2 separate regions of the Homo sapiens genome follow, and region 1 is linked to region 2. The links are contacts of gene promoters, found by promoter capture Hi-C in human tissues and cell types (Jung and others, 2019). All regions are on one chromosome and are shown on one strand. Each heading gives the region's core, a stretch centred on a gene start or on the middle of the fragment in contact. The rest is flanking DNA. Distances are from core to core; before and after follow the strand shown. Region 1 overlaps TET3 (tet methylcytosine dioxygenase 3). Region 2 holds the start of BOLA3 (bolA family member 3).

What was found. The method cuts DNA at HindIII sites, captures the fragments that hold promoters and counts their contacts. A contact is called where the count stands out against the background at its distance.
Region 1: a contact is called between a fragment that was not itself captured here and the fragment with the promoter of BOLA3 in region 2, in 1 of the 25 tissues and cell types used here (adrenal gland).

Annotation. Positions count from the first base shown.
Region 1 is chr2:74,084,764-74,091,985 of GRCh38, forward strand. It overlaps TET3 (tet methylcytosine dioxygenase 3), which reads left to right. Exons shown (of 12, transcript NM_001287491.2): 7 at 3,067-3,275; 8 at 5,134-5,284. Among named protein-coding and RNA genes, the nearest start is that of BOLA3, 60 kb to the right of the region's middle. RefSeq lists an enhancer at 951-1,450. The HindIII fragment of the contact is 8,521 bases long and covers 77-7,222 here.
Region 2 is chr2:74,144,073-74,151,354 of GRCh38, forward strand. BOLA3 (bolA family member 3) reads right to left here and starts at 3,840. Exons shown (of 4, transcript NM_212552.3): 1 at 3,749-3,840; 2 at 1,117-1,231. The coding sequence starts at 3,802. BOLA3-DT (BOLA3 divergent transcript) reads left to right here and starts at 3,909. Exons shown (of 3, transcript NR_045636.1): 1 at 3,909-4,151; 2 at 4,278-4,406; 3 at 4,626-7,282. RefSeq lists a silencer at 3,581-4,060 and an enhancer at 3,594-4,253. The HindIII fragment of the contact is 14,937 bases long and covers 1-7,282 here.

The sequences.
Region 1 (7,222 bases), core at 3,087-5,586, 59 kb before region 2:
CGTTTCTACTAAAAATACAAAAAATTAGCCAGGCGTGGTAGCATGCGCCTGTAGTCCCAGCTACTCTGGAGACAGTGGGGAGAATTGCCTGAGCCCAGGAGGCAGAGGTGTTAGTGAGCTGAGATCGTGCCACTGCACTCCAGCCTGTGCAACAGAGCAAGACTCGGTCTCAAAAAAAAAGAGAAACAGAGGCAGAAAGTAGAACAGTGGTTTCAGGAGGGGAGAATGGAGAGTTCCTTAATGAACAGAGTTTGTTGTGCAAGATGAAAAAATTTTAGAGATGGGTGGTTGTGATGGTTGCACAGCAATATGAACATACCTAATGCCACTAAACGGTGTACTTTGAAATGATTAAAATGGTAAATTGTTCGTATATTTTTCCACAGCAAAAAAAAAAAAAAGAAAATTGGAGCACTCATGTTTTTGGAGAGGGATTTTATGTAAAATCTGGATTTCCGTTTTTTTCTTCAAAATTGGAAGAATTAGCCTCACTGGGCTGGAATTTCCCCCAGGCGGTAGTTGATGGCAATAAGGCCTGGCCTCCCCCTGTTGATGGGGCAGATGCTTTTCACTTTGCCACGGTCCACACCACCCACTAGTCTTGCATCCGGCCCACCTTCCTCATTTGTATTGCCTGCCTGGCTACCCCTTTCAGGGTCTCCCAGCACGATCCACTCGTGACCAGGTCTGTCTGCAACCCAGCATCTCCTGACCTCCAGACCCACTCTGGGGGGTATCCTTAGAGACCACTCAGGTGCTCTAAGGCAGTGGTCCCTAACTTTTTGGCACCAGGGACTGGTTTCGTGGAAGACCATTCAGGCATTAGATTCTCAAAAGGAGTGCACAACCTAGTTCTCTCACATGCGCAGTTCATGCTCCTATGAGAATCTAAAGCTGCTGCTGATCTGACAGGAGGTGGAGCTCAGGCGGTAACGCCCGCTCGCCTGCTGCTCACCTCCTGCCGTGCAGCCCAGTTCATAACAGGCCACAGACCCAGTACAGGTCCGCACCCTGGGGGTCAGAGACCCCTGCTCTAAGGTACCTCAGCCTCAGGATGCTCCCAGTTAACTTGCCAGTAAACCACACCCATGCCCACTCAGTCTCCTGAGCCACAAAGTGTGGAAGTCACTCAGGGTTTTTCCTTGTCCCTCAGCCTCAGGAATCCATTCTTCTCCTGTTTTCTTACCCCTTGCCATAGTTAGGACTTTATTCATTTTGCTTGCATTATGTCAATGGTGTTCCAGCTGGTCTCCCCGTCTTGCCCTTCTCCCGATTTTCTGCCCCCACTTTCTAAAGCATGAAACTCTTTATGTAAGCCCCCTGCTCACCATCCTGCGTGGAGTTCCCGCCTCAAGGCCCTGCCCCTGGGCCTGACACTCGGAGCCCTTCCCAGTCTACCCTCATCCTTCCCCTGCCCACAGGCCCTCACATCTTATCTGGTCATGGAATTATCTGGCATTCTCTGGCAATTTTCAGCCACCTCCTTCCCCAGCTCCCAGGCCTCTTGGCCCTGACATCTTTTTATAAACCAGGACAGTGTTTAGGAATTAATGAGAACCCAGACCTCAGACCTGGATCCTGAGCAGCAGAGCAGTGGATGCCCAGGGCTCTCGCTTAAAAAAAAAAAAAGTAGCTTTATTGAGATACAATTCTCGTACCATACAGTTCACACATTTGAAGCATATAATTCAATGGTTTTTGGTGTAGTACATTTTTAAAATTGTGGTAACAGTGTATAAACAGGCTGGGTGCAGTGGCTCATGTCTGTAATCCCAGCACTTTGGAAGGCTGAGGCAGGAGGATCACGTGAGCCCCAGCAGTTCAAGACCAGCCTAGACAACATAGTGAGACCCTGTCTCTTAAAAAATTTTAAAAAGTTAGCCAGGCATGGTGGCGTGTGTCTGTAGTCCCGGGTACTCAAGAAGGCTGAAGTGGGAGGATCGCTTAAGCCCAGGAGTTTGAAGCTGCAGTGAGCTATGATCATGCCACTGTACTCCAGCCTGGGCAACAGAGTAAGACCCTGACTCTAAAAAAAAAAAAAAAAAAAAAAGTTTGTGTAGAAATAAAATCTAACATTTTAACCATTTTTCAGTGTACAGGTTGGTGGCATTAAGTACATTCACGTTGTTGTACAAGCATCAACCTAGTCTATTTCCAGAACTTTTTCAACATCCTGTACTGAAACTCTGCACCCATTAACAATAATTCTCCATTCTCCCCTTTCCCAGGCCCTCGTAAGCTCTAATCTACTTTCTGTCTCTCTGAATGGAACTGTTCTGGGTGTCTCATGTCAGTGGAATCATGTACTATGTGTCCTTTTGTGTCTGGCTTATTTCACATAGCATGTTTTTGGGGTTCATCCATGTTGTAACATGGATCAGAATTTTGTTTCTCTTTAAGGCTGAGTAATACTTGGTTGTCTGTCTATACCACGTCGTACTTACCTGTTCATCAACCGATGGACCCTGGGGGTGCTTCCACCTTTTGGCTGTTGTGAATAGTGCTGCAGTGAACGTGGGTATTCAGGGATCTGCCTGAGTCCTGCTCTCAGTCCCTCGAGTGTATTCCTAGGCATGGAATTGCTGGATCATATGGTAATCCTATGTTTAGCTTTTGGAGGCATTGCCAGACTGTTTTCCACAGTGCCAAGCCCCTTGCATGTTAACTAAAAACACACAGGTAGGCAGCATTTTCTCTGCAAATGTTTTAGGATAACATAAAAATCTGACTGTATTTTGGCTTACAATTTTTATCTGTGTATTTTTACTCCTAAGCCTATGTAAGTCATCAGCAACTTAGATTTTGTGGTAATTATTTTTTATTTCACTCTCAAAATAACTTTTATGTTTTTGTTCCCTAACAAAACATTTGTTCCTAATAATGTTCCCTATTTGTTCCCTAATAATGGTCTCTTAGCTTGTAAGGTTGCTGTCTTCAGGGCATGACATCCCTAGAACCCTGCCGTTAAGACCTGCACCCTGGGTCTGTGTGACAAAGGGAGGGGTGGCACCATGCAGAGGAGCACGGGTACCTGGCTCCTGCCCCTCACACCCTGCGTCCCTGCAGGTGATCCGCAGGCACACGCTGGAGGAGAAGCTACTCTGCCTGGTGCGGCACCGGGCAGGCCACCACTGCCAGAACGCTGTGATCGTCATCCTCATCCTGGCCTGGGAGGGCATTCCCCGTAGCCTCGGAGACACCCTCTACCAGGAGCTCACCGACACCCTCCGGAAGTATGGGAACCCCACCAGCCGGAGATGCGGCCTCAACGATGAGTATGTAGCAGAGGGCTTCAGGGCCAGGGCCCACCTATAGGGTCCTGGGCAGCAAATACAGGAGACTGCAGGCAACCCTGGGGAAGGCTCCTAGGGGCCCTCTCTGCGGCACTGTTTGTCCTGCACAGTTAGGACTGTGGTTGAGGAAGGCATATCCACAGATCTTGCTTGAGCTGGGTTCTAGCTCTGGCTCCAGAGGGTCTACTAGTTTGACTTCACCGTTAAACCCCAGGTCGATAACACTGGCACTAATGATATTAGCGAGTGTGAAGTACATGTGCCCCATAAATAGAAGGTATCGAAGATATTTACAAAACCTGCCCTTGGCCAGGCGTGGTCCATGCCTATAATCCCAGCACTTTGGGAGGCCGAAGTGGGTGGATCATAAGGTCAGGAGTTTGAGACCAGCCTGGCCAATACGGTGAAACCCCATCTCTACTAAAAATAAAAAAATTAGTCAGGCGTGGTGGCACACACCTGTAGTCCCAGCTACTCGGGAGGCTGAGACAGAAGAATCGCTTGAACTCGGGCGGCGGAAGTTGCAGTGAGCTGAGATTGCACCACTGCACTCCAGCCTGGGCAACAGTGAGACTCTGTCTCAAAAACAAAAACAAAAAAACCCTGCCCTTATCAGAGTTTTTCCCATTTTTAAAAATGAAGGTATATTTATTTACAATAAAATTCATCCTCTTAGGTATATAGTTTTGACAAATGTTTACAGTCACGTACCTACCACCACCACAATTAAGATATGCAACAGGGCTGGGCATGGTGGCTCATGCCTGTGGTCGCAGCACTTTGGGAGGCCAAGGCGGGTGGATCGCCTGAGGCCAGGAATTCGAGACGAGCCTGGCCATCATGGCGAAACCCTGTCTTTACTAAAAATATAAAAATTAGCCAGGTGTGGTGACACATGCCTGTAATCCCAGCTACTAAGGAGGCTGAGGCATGAGAATCACTTTCACCCAGGAGGCAGAGGTTGCAGTGAGCCAAGATCGTGCCATTGCACTCCAGCCTGAGCAACAGAACAGGATTCCGTCTCAAAAAAAAAAAAAAAAAAAAAAAAGACATAGAACAGTTCCATCTTCCCCCCGAAGTGCCCCATGCATGCCCTTTATAAGCAAGCCCTCCCCTAGCCCTGGGCAGTCACCGGTCTTGTTTCCTGTTCCTGTAGGTTTACCTCTGTGAGAATGTCACATAAATGGGATCATACAGGGTGTAGCTTTCTGAGTCTGGCTTCTTCCATTGAACATAGTGTTTTCAGTGTTCATCTGTGTTGACGTGTGTGTCAGTAGCTCGTTCCTTTTTATCAATGAGTCGTAATCCACTGTGTGGATCTATCATAGTTTGCTTATCCATCCCCCAGTTAGGGGCACTTGGGTTGTTTCCAGATTGTATTAAGCGTTAATTTTCATCTCAGTATACTTTGTTGAAAGGCCTGTTAGCATCTGGGCTATAGGAAATAGACACGTTCAAACCCTGGGGCTCACATCATTTCCCTGTTCATATGGCCTGTCCTGGAGCTGGTTAAGATATTAAGTTAAGGGAAAGTATAAACGTTAATGGGTTTTTACCAGATTCTTCCCCCTTACTTCCGTAAACCCATGTGCTACTCCCAGCAACAGACTCAGTGTTAGACCTGCAGGCTCGCAGTGGTGCAGGCAGCAGAGGCTGCTTAGATCTGGCTTCCTACTCAAGGAAACTTGAGAAAGGGGTTGGGGGTGGGGAAGGATGAGTCTCAGTCACTGGGAGGCTGGTGGGTGCCAGGGCTCAGCAGGGCCACCCCTTGAGGGAGGAGGAATACTCCAGAACGAAGGGATATTGCATCTATATCCCTGACCTGTGCTGTGTGTTGCAGCCGGACCTGCGCTTGCCAAGGCAAAGACCCCAACACCTGTGGTGCCTCCTTCTCCTTTGGTTGTTCCTGGAGCATGTACTTCAACGGCTGCAAGTATGCTCGGAGCAAGACACCTCGCAAGTTCCGCCTCGCAGGGGACAATCCCAAAGAGGTGAGCAGAGCTGGGCGGGGACCCTGCCTCCCATCCTTTCTCGCCTGGCGTCCTTCATGGTCCAGCGGGAGGTAGTACTGGCACGCCATGACTCAGATGCACAGGAAGTGGAACTTGTTTTCGTTTTTTTAAAAGCTGACCTTATCTTGCTGTGAAATAAGGGGTGTGTGGAGGGCACCAAGTGTGAAAAATTAGACTTAGCAGTTACGGGTGCCCCAGGCTCTTCCCATGTAAACCATCTCTTTTAGGTAAATACTCCAAATATCGAAGATACATATTCAAATCGCTTGTCAGAATTTGGCCCTCTCAGAGGTCATTTCTCCCCCCCATCTTCCCAGGACACCTTTCTAGGTGTGAGGTTTAGCAGGAAAGGCGGTCTCCCGCATGTGGGCCATCCTCTGGGCCTTTGCTGTACTTCCCAAGGTATCTCCCACCCTGCCTGGCTGCCGGACAGATGTCTCTGGGCAGTCATCCGGGCCCTTGCAGTCTCCATGCTGGGGGCCTGGCCTGGTCCCTGGGCTCTGGACTGGTGTCCATACAGTATGACCGCTAGGCACGGCACCTTCTCTCTGTAGGCTCCTTACCCAGACCCCTGCCCTGCAGGGCCTCCCCCAGCCCCAAGACAGCAGGGGAAGGCGCCCTCAGGCTGTGGGGGCCGGAGCATCTGCTCAGGCCGCCTCCCCTCTGTTGTTTGTCCTCTGATGCCTGCATGGCAAAGGCCCTCCTGAGAGGCGGTCTCCACTCAGCTCCAAATGCAAGGAAGGCACAAGCCTATCCAGGTTGTCTGCCATTTTACCTTCCTTCTGCCTGGGCTCCTGAGCGGGTGGAGTGCTGGCTTCCTTTGCTAGGATACAGACAAATATCCAAATACGTGAACTCAAGTTGCAACCTTCCAAATCTCTCCAAGCTCCTAGTACCAGAAGGGCTTCCCACTTCCCGTGGTGCAGGGACACCCTCTCTACACCAAAGCCTATGTCACCTTCTGTGCTCTGACTGCCAAGCTTGGGTCCTCATAAGAAAAAGGAAGCATTTTCAAATTCAGAACTCTTTGTTTACCCCAGACCTGGCTTTTAGACTTAAATAGTCTAATAGACCTGTATGCAAATAGTCTAATTTGTTATTAGATTTTTATTTACGGTAAGATTCACCCTCCCTTACAAGCAGCAGATGTGGTTGCTTCAATGAATGGAGCCCTGGGGCTACCAGGACCTAAGAACTACTAGGAATGGAAAGACATTGGCTTAATTTCTCTCAAATTCTTTCCCTGTTCTACCAACTGCCACTTCCTGTGCTCTTACGATGTGCTAAGCACTTTGCCAAGCCCCTCATAGGTTTCTCAGATGATTTCACGACCCCTCCATCCCAGTGATCTAGGCACTGTTACCCCTCACTTTACAGATGAGGCAGATGGCTTCCTTAAGCCCATGTGGCTAGTTCATGGTGAAGGCAGGTTTGAAACTCAGGCCTGTGTGTCCCTAGAGCTCACAAGCCTCACCCCCTGCTGTGCTGGTGGCAGCATCTGGACATCAGGCAGGGAGGTGGCCTGGCATCACTGGCCCAGGCTGGCCTGGTCAAGAGTGGCTGGCAGCCCTGGCGACCCCACTGGATGTACAGCTGAGCTGTGGGTCTCCACCTTCCATTTCTCATTCTGTGTGCTTGGTTCTTTTTCTCTTTCCTCTCTTCCTGCTTTCTTCTTCATAAACCCTTTGTGCCTGTGCTCGTGGTGTCCTAGGAGCCCTTCAAGCCCTGCTTGTTTTCGGAGGGCCAGACAGAGGCTGTGGATACCTGGAACTCTCTGCCACATGTCACCAGGGGCTGCTGCTTCACATAGAGCAGTGCTGTCCCACAGTACTTTCTGTGATGTGTGGAAACATTCTCTGCTGTCCATACAGGAGCCACGTGTAGCTGCTGAGTATTTAAAATGGGACTAGTGCAACC
Region 2 (7,282 bases), core at 2,590-5,089:
TTGGCTCACTGCAGCCTCCGCCTCCCGGGTTCAAGCAAGTCTCCTGCCTCAGACTCTTGAGTAGCTGGGACTACAGGCGTGTGCCACCACGCCCAGTTAATTTTTGTATTTTTAGTAGAGACGGGGGGGTTTCACCATGTTGGCCAGGCTGGTCTTGAACTCCTGACCTCGTGATCCACCTGCCTCAGCCTCTCAAAGTGCTGGGATTACAGGCATGAGCCACTGCTCCAAAACCCCAGCAGATCTTTAGATTGATTTATTTCCTGTGGTTTCCAGAATAAAATCTACTTTCTAAACTTTCTCCTCAATCCTTGGAAATGTTATGTTCTCAGTAAAGTCAGTGAGCCCTCATGGCAATGCTGAGTGGCAAAGGCTGCCTCTGGGTATGGAGAGATTCAGACTGATGCCTATCCAGCGGCCCACGCCACGGGCCGTTCTGTGTGTACGTGTGTGTGTGTGTGTGGATAAAGGGCCTATCTTCCCCATCCTGTGGATGCAGAAGTTGCTTCTCCAGCCTGCTCCTAACACACTGCCAGCCTGAACTTCTAGGTGCCAGTGGCCACCTGAGAAGGACAGCGCTTGGCTGGGGCTGGTAACTGGGCTTAGGACAGAGTCTCCCCTGAGTCCCGGTTCTGGTTCCAGTTCCACTGTCTCTTCCCTATGAGGAGCTAGGCAATTCCTTTGGCCTCTCTGGGCTCATTTCCTCTTAGGGAAAGTAAAGCAGCTGAAGAAAATCTTTCTGGGGTCCACTCCAGCTCTGATATCCTAGGGTGTCAGAAGAATGGGGGAAAATTAGAGCAAAACCTATTCAAAGTCAAATGACAGACTGTGGACCTCAGCTCTAGGGTGACTGAGAGGGACCTTGTCTGAGCTGAGCCAGGCTGGCAACCTTGAGTCCTCCCAGCTGCGCCTTGTCCTCAGTTTCCCTCTGATATTTCTGAATCCTGACTGCCATCCCATGAGGTGGGGGCAGCCGAGCTCCACCTGTCCAGCAGCAACACATCTTGAGAAGCCACTCACCAGCAGCAAGCCCCCTCCTCCAAGCCCCTGACCCTCTGTCCTTCCAAAGGGCAAAATCTTATCCAAGCGCCGTAGGAAGAGTGAGAGAAACCTTACCTGAAATGTCAGTGACTTTTATAGCTGTAGCTCGTGGAAACTTTTCTTTGAGAATTTGGGTCACTCTGAGCTCCCCCTCAGTCTGAGTGGCAAACATCCGATGGTGAAGTGGAAGCTGCCACAGAACAGAGAGGAAGGTCAGGGCAGAGGAAGATGCTGTTGCCCCTGAGCTGGGCCACTGTGCAGGCCCGCCTGCCATTCCCCCTGCAAGGCAGGCCCCTGAGCCCTCGCCAGCACAGCCATGGGTTATGTCAGAGGGGCTCTGTGGTATCAGGAGTCCATGTAAGTGCCCCAAAACACAGAATAAACTTTTATTGGCGGGGACAGGATGATTGTTAATAACTCAATTTGACTCCAGAGACAAGAGGCCCCAAACCTAATTCAAGAGATGTTTGCTTCCATATAATGTTGTGACACTATTATGCCGATAGTTTTATAGGTAAGGAAACTGAGGCACACAGTAATGTGCCCAAGGTTGAATTCGGTAAGATACAGAGCCAGAAAAGCTGGATAGCCTGCCTCAGATCCATACCACTAGGCCATCCACTGCCCTGGATGGTGGGGCCAAATTCCACACTCCCTCGCCTTTAGGCCTGATTAACATGTCTCGCCCTCCCCAGTGGGATGTGACCTCACAGCCCACTGCTCAATTAGCCAGCTATCCTTCATCATGCACTCCTTCTCACTGGGAGCAAAGTCAGAATTCTATGAAAGAACCTGAAGAAGGAGTATCTGTAGGTTGTTTACCATTGGCAACAACACCCCTTCCCCAATGGCTACCATGGGGGAACCTGTGTTTGTGTTTCCTTTTTTTTTTTTTTTGAGACAGAGTTTTGCTCTGTTACCCAGGCTGGAGTGCAGTGGCACAATCTCAGCTCACTGCAACTTCCACCTCCCGGGTTCAAGCGATTCTCCTGCCCCAGCCTCCTGAGTAGCTGGGATTCCAGGCACCCACCACCACGCTCGGCAAATTTTTGTATTTTTAGTAGAGATGAGGTTTCACCATGTTGGCCAGGCTGGTCTCAAACCCCTGACCTCAGGTGATCCACCCACCTCAACCTCCCAAAATTCTAGGATTACAGGCATGAGCCACCACGCCCGGCCAGGGGAGCCCATGTTTCTGATGGAACACGTCTCAACAGTTAGTAGTGAAGGAGCAGAAAAGCAGGTCGGCAGTCACTTGGCTGGGCTGAGTGCATGCTGAAAAGGCAGACTGGGAATGGAGTGTGGCAGGCCTTGAATGCCAGGCTAAAGATTGTGGACTGTATGGGACAGGAGATGGGACTCCAGGTGATAGAACCCAGGCTCATGGGACCAAAGTAACCTGCAGGAAACAGTGCCTTCTGGAGCGAGTCAGGAGAGATGCCCAAGTAAGAGGCATTACAATGATGGAAGCACCGGGCACTGGTCCCTGACTAGACGTGGATGACAGGTTGGAGGACACTAGGGCCGTTCATGGGTGCTGGTGCTGAAGGTCCCACCCCTCTACCCCTCAGTCCTTCCTGATAGCTCAGAGCAGGGTCCTGTGTCACAGAATCTCAGAGCACCTCCTTTAAAATGAGCTGTGCACTGGCTCTCTCACCACTGGTCTTATAGGCCAGGAATGAGTCCGGCAGCATCCCAGAGCTGACCCCAGGGCAGGCCCTCAGAGGCACTTGGTGCTGGATGAATGAATGAGCAGGGGAAGAACTAGTCAATTAGGGACAGAAATGCAAGACAGGAGAAAGGTCCAGAGTGTGATTGTCTGCCTGCTGTGTGGAGGGACAGAAACTCGATGTTGAGAGGCTGGACAGGATTGCCAGGAGTGAGGGTGGGGTGGAGCTGCTTCTGGGGGCAGAATCTTGAGGGTAAAGGCAGAGAGTAACCAGATGGCAGACAGAATCGGCAGCTACTAAGGGGTGAGAGAGGTGAGCGTTGCAGAATCCTTGGGAGAAGCCTTTCATCTTAGCGGATCTGTGGGCAGCGGCCTTTAGTGGAACAATCAACTGACATCCCCAGATGATCACTGTCCACGCTGAAAGTCACCGCAGTGGAAGAACTTCTCTTCATGCACAGGGCAGGCAGGTTCAGAACCAGGGGAGAAGGAAAATGAAAGTTAAGAGAAAGAATGGTATGAGCTGAAGCAAAGGATGGTTCAGAAAGGGGGAGAGATTAGGAGAGCGCGTGGGAAGTGCCCCCTGCTTGGGTTCTGCTCCGGTAGTGTGGGATTTGGAGGAGGATCAAGGTCAGAGGCCCAGTCGACCTTCCCAAGGCCCCGGCCCCGCTGCAGTCCCTCGCACCCACGCCTTGACTCTGGGCTATGACTCCTGTCTTCTGCTCGGTAAACCAATCCTTTTTTTTTCCTGTGCCCGCAGTATTATGACTGTTCATGTGTCTGTCCGCCTGACCTCCAACCTCCACCCAGCTCGGGAGCTCCCCTAGAGCGCGCCAGAGCTTGAAATTTCGAATGCCGTTGTCGCTGAGTGAATGAATGAATGAAAGAATGAATGAGAGAAAGGAAGAGGAGCCCCCCATTGCCAGTGCCGCGCGCGCCCTCCGGGAGCCAGTCCTCAAGCCCCGACAGCCGCCGGCCCCGCGGTCCCTCCGCAGCTCCCGTCCCGGGGAGAGCAGCCCCGACCCTGCCCACGCTCACCCCGCGGATCCCGCGGAGGAGAGGCGCTGCCGCGGCCGGGCTCCATGCAGCCATGCCCGGCCGACGTGACCCGCCGCCCGAGGTCACTGTATGCCCGAAAGACGCGGAGCGGGGGACCGAGAGCCGCCGCCGTGGGAGAGGCCGCCCCCTGCCGCCCGGAGGCCGTCAGCCTCCCGGCCCCGCCCCGGAGGCCTCCGGTCGCCTGGCTCCGGCCCCACCCCGCCATCCCCTGGCCCTGGCTGACTCGCCACCCCCGACACTGCAGCGCCTGCCGACCTCGGGGCCCCGCCCTCTGCCTTCGCTCGCGCCGCTCTCCTTCAGTCTCCCCAGGGCCTGTTTCATGGATAGGGTCCCCTTGCCCGCGTGAAAGTCTCATTCCTCCTCAGCTCAGAAACACTCCAAGGTCTCGGCGCCCTATACTGGCCTTCCCTCATCCGAATACCCCTCGTGCTCCTGATGTACTTTTCCATTCCCACTCCCTACTCTGGCAGTCTAGCTTCTAAGCTGAGGAGTTTGGCCTTCGCTCCAGGTGCGGGGACTCGTGGAAGGATTTGATTCGCGCTTGAGAAAGATCGCTCCGCTCCTGTAAGGAAGAGAGCGTGTAGGGGCTGCAACCAGAGACACAGTCAGAAGCTCCGAGGCTACCGCGATGGTCCAGGTGAGAATGGAGGGGCCTAACTAAACCAGTGGCGGGAGGGATGGAAGAATGAACTGAGACACTTGGGAGGTGAATGGAATCGAGCGACTGCATGTGGAGGTGTGAGTGGGAAGGTATCTGAGATGACTCCAGTTTCTGGCTTGGACAATGACTTGGATGGAGGGTTAGGTGGGGGCTGAGCAGAGTCCACGAACAGTTCTTAATTTGCCTGAGTTTAAGGTGCCACAGGACACAGCCTAACAGAGGCCCAGGTTGGAGCCATGGACCATGGAGTCATGAGAATGGAAGGGAAGCTGACGCCATGTGGGATGGGGTAGAACTGTCCGCAAATTCGTCCCGCCTCTGGAGTCTTCAGACCAGTCAAGGCCGAAATTCAACCAAGCCTCTCCTCTCTCTAGCTGTTATTTGTTTGCAGCACGCGGTCTGGTGGCACCCTGCAGGATTTACCAGCTTTTTGCCAACATTCTGGCCTATGCAATCAATACGTCCCTTCAGCGTTGCACTTGGATGGATTGGACCTATAGTTGTTATATATGGATATTGTCTAATTTATTTATTACAGTATTAACTGACTCCTATGTTCTGGCCTTCAGAATTTCTCCTTTGGATCAATTACTAGCCTGTCTTACATTTTCTGCTTCATTCTTTTAAAATGTTTAGAGATGATTTGCTAAGTTTTCTTCATTGCTGTCAATGATGCAATTTAAACTGTCAAAAAAATTTTTTCTCAAGCAGGGTAGTAATGGTGAACCATTCCCTTGCTATTCAGACAGCATGGTTTAGATGAGGCGCACCTATCCCCAGCTTTAGGAATGGAAACAGGACCCAAGTCTGGCTAATCAGAGACTGGTTTAGGGTCGGCCCCATGGTCTGAGCCAGACCAATGAGAATTGGTAGAGGGACTTCCTTTTGCAACTTCTATTTTAGAATCGGGGGTATATATGCAGGCTTGTTACAGAGGTATATTGCATGGTGCTGAGGTTTGGAGTATGAACGAATCCGTCCTTCAGGTAATGAGCATAGTACCCAATAGGTAGTTTCAACCCTTGCCCCCTTCCTCCTTCCCCAGTCTTGTATTCCCCAGTGTCTGTTGTTCCCAGACATTGATCTTTTTCCTCTATGTTGCTAAGCTGGTAGAAAGGCTGGAGTTGCTGGCAACCATCTTTGCAACCATGCAGGGAGAACTACTTTGGAAATGAAGCAAGATAAAGAAGAAAACAGATAAAAGGAGACAAATGTTTGACTTTGTACAGCTGGAAACCAGCAATGCTGGAAATGAGCACTGAAGGCAGTTTAATGGGTTTGTCACTTGTAACCAAGTGACCCATGGCAAGCTCACAGATTTGTATTGGCAGAATTCCTCCTTTTCTTTATTTAAAATGGTACTTTTGGCCAGGCAAGGTGGTTCACACCTGTAATCCAAAGACTTTGGGAGGCCGAGGCGCACTGATCACCCAAGGTCAGAAGTTCGAGAACAGCCTGGCCAACATTGGCGAAACCCCATCTCTACTAAAAATACAAACCATTAGCTGGCTGCGGTGGCCTTTCTACCAGCTTTTTGTCTCAAAAAAAAAAAAAAAAAAGGTACTTTTGCTTATCTCTAACCTTCCTCTTCCCCATAATTTAACAGTTGCCCATACTATCTGTTACTCTGAGCTACTCTCTGCCCCATTCTCCTCCTCTTATCTTCAGTTCCTCCTAGGCTGTCAGAGCCATCTGAAATGAAAACATTTAGGCCGGGCATAGTGGTTCATGCCTGTAATCCCAGCACTTTGGGAGGCTGAGGCAGGCGGATCAGCTGAGGTCAGGAGTTCAAGACCACCCTGGTCAACATGGTGAAACCCCATCTCTACTAAAAATACAAAAATTATCCAGACATGGTGGCACATGCCTCTACTCCCAGCTACTTGGGAGGCTGAGGCAGGAGAATCGCTTGAACCTAGGAGGCAGGGGTTGCAGTGAGCCGAGATTGAGCCACTGCACTCTAGCCTGGGCGACAGAGTGAGACTTTGTCTAAAAAACATAAATAAAATAAAATGAAATGAAAACATTTGCTACTTGAAATCCTTCAGATTCCCCATCGCCTACCTACAGGCAAAACTCTCAAGTTCTTTTGTATGATTTAACCACTATCTACCTGTCCAACTGAAATCTACCCTTCAGTAATATTATACTTGCACCTCCCTTCATAAGCTATGCTACAAGTTTGGTTATGCAGTTGCCCACCTTTTAAGGTTCAAGCCTTGTCTTCTCCAAAGAGCCACCTCTGACTGCCTCACAGTAAGCTTAGGGCCCGCAACTTACCTGTAACTTTTGTTGCACTTATGGCCTTTTACAACTATCAATTTATGTATGTGTCTGTTCTCACTGGTTTATAAGCTCCCTGAGGACAGAGCCTTGCTTGAGTCATCTGTCAGCAGCCCAATATGGGACAAAAAGTGCATGCATTGTAATTACTGAACAGAACTGATAGAGGCTCAGCAATTTGCGCTCCATAGGTCTAAGTTTGAACTTTTCTAGAAAAGGATTTGCAGGACGATCTGACGAATCTTGGGCTTCCAAATTAGTTCCAACAGTTCTAGTATTTTTTTTTTTTTTTGACAGAAGCAAATAAGTAAGTTTTACTTTGTGATTAAAACAAAAGTGAAATGCATTTAGTCCCAGGAAATGTCAATCCTTTCTGCATCTTACTTTTTTTTGCTGTGACCTCGAGATTCTCTTGTTCTCTTCAGTTGTATTGGTCCATGATCACTCATAGCTTTCATACACATATATACATCTGAAACTCAGAAAATTCATTAGGTAGGAACTCTTTGGATGCATCTCCTTTTTTAACCTCATTGGGATGATTTTTCGTTGCACCATCATTTTATAGA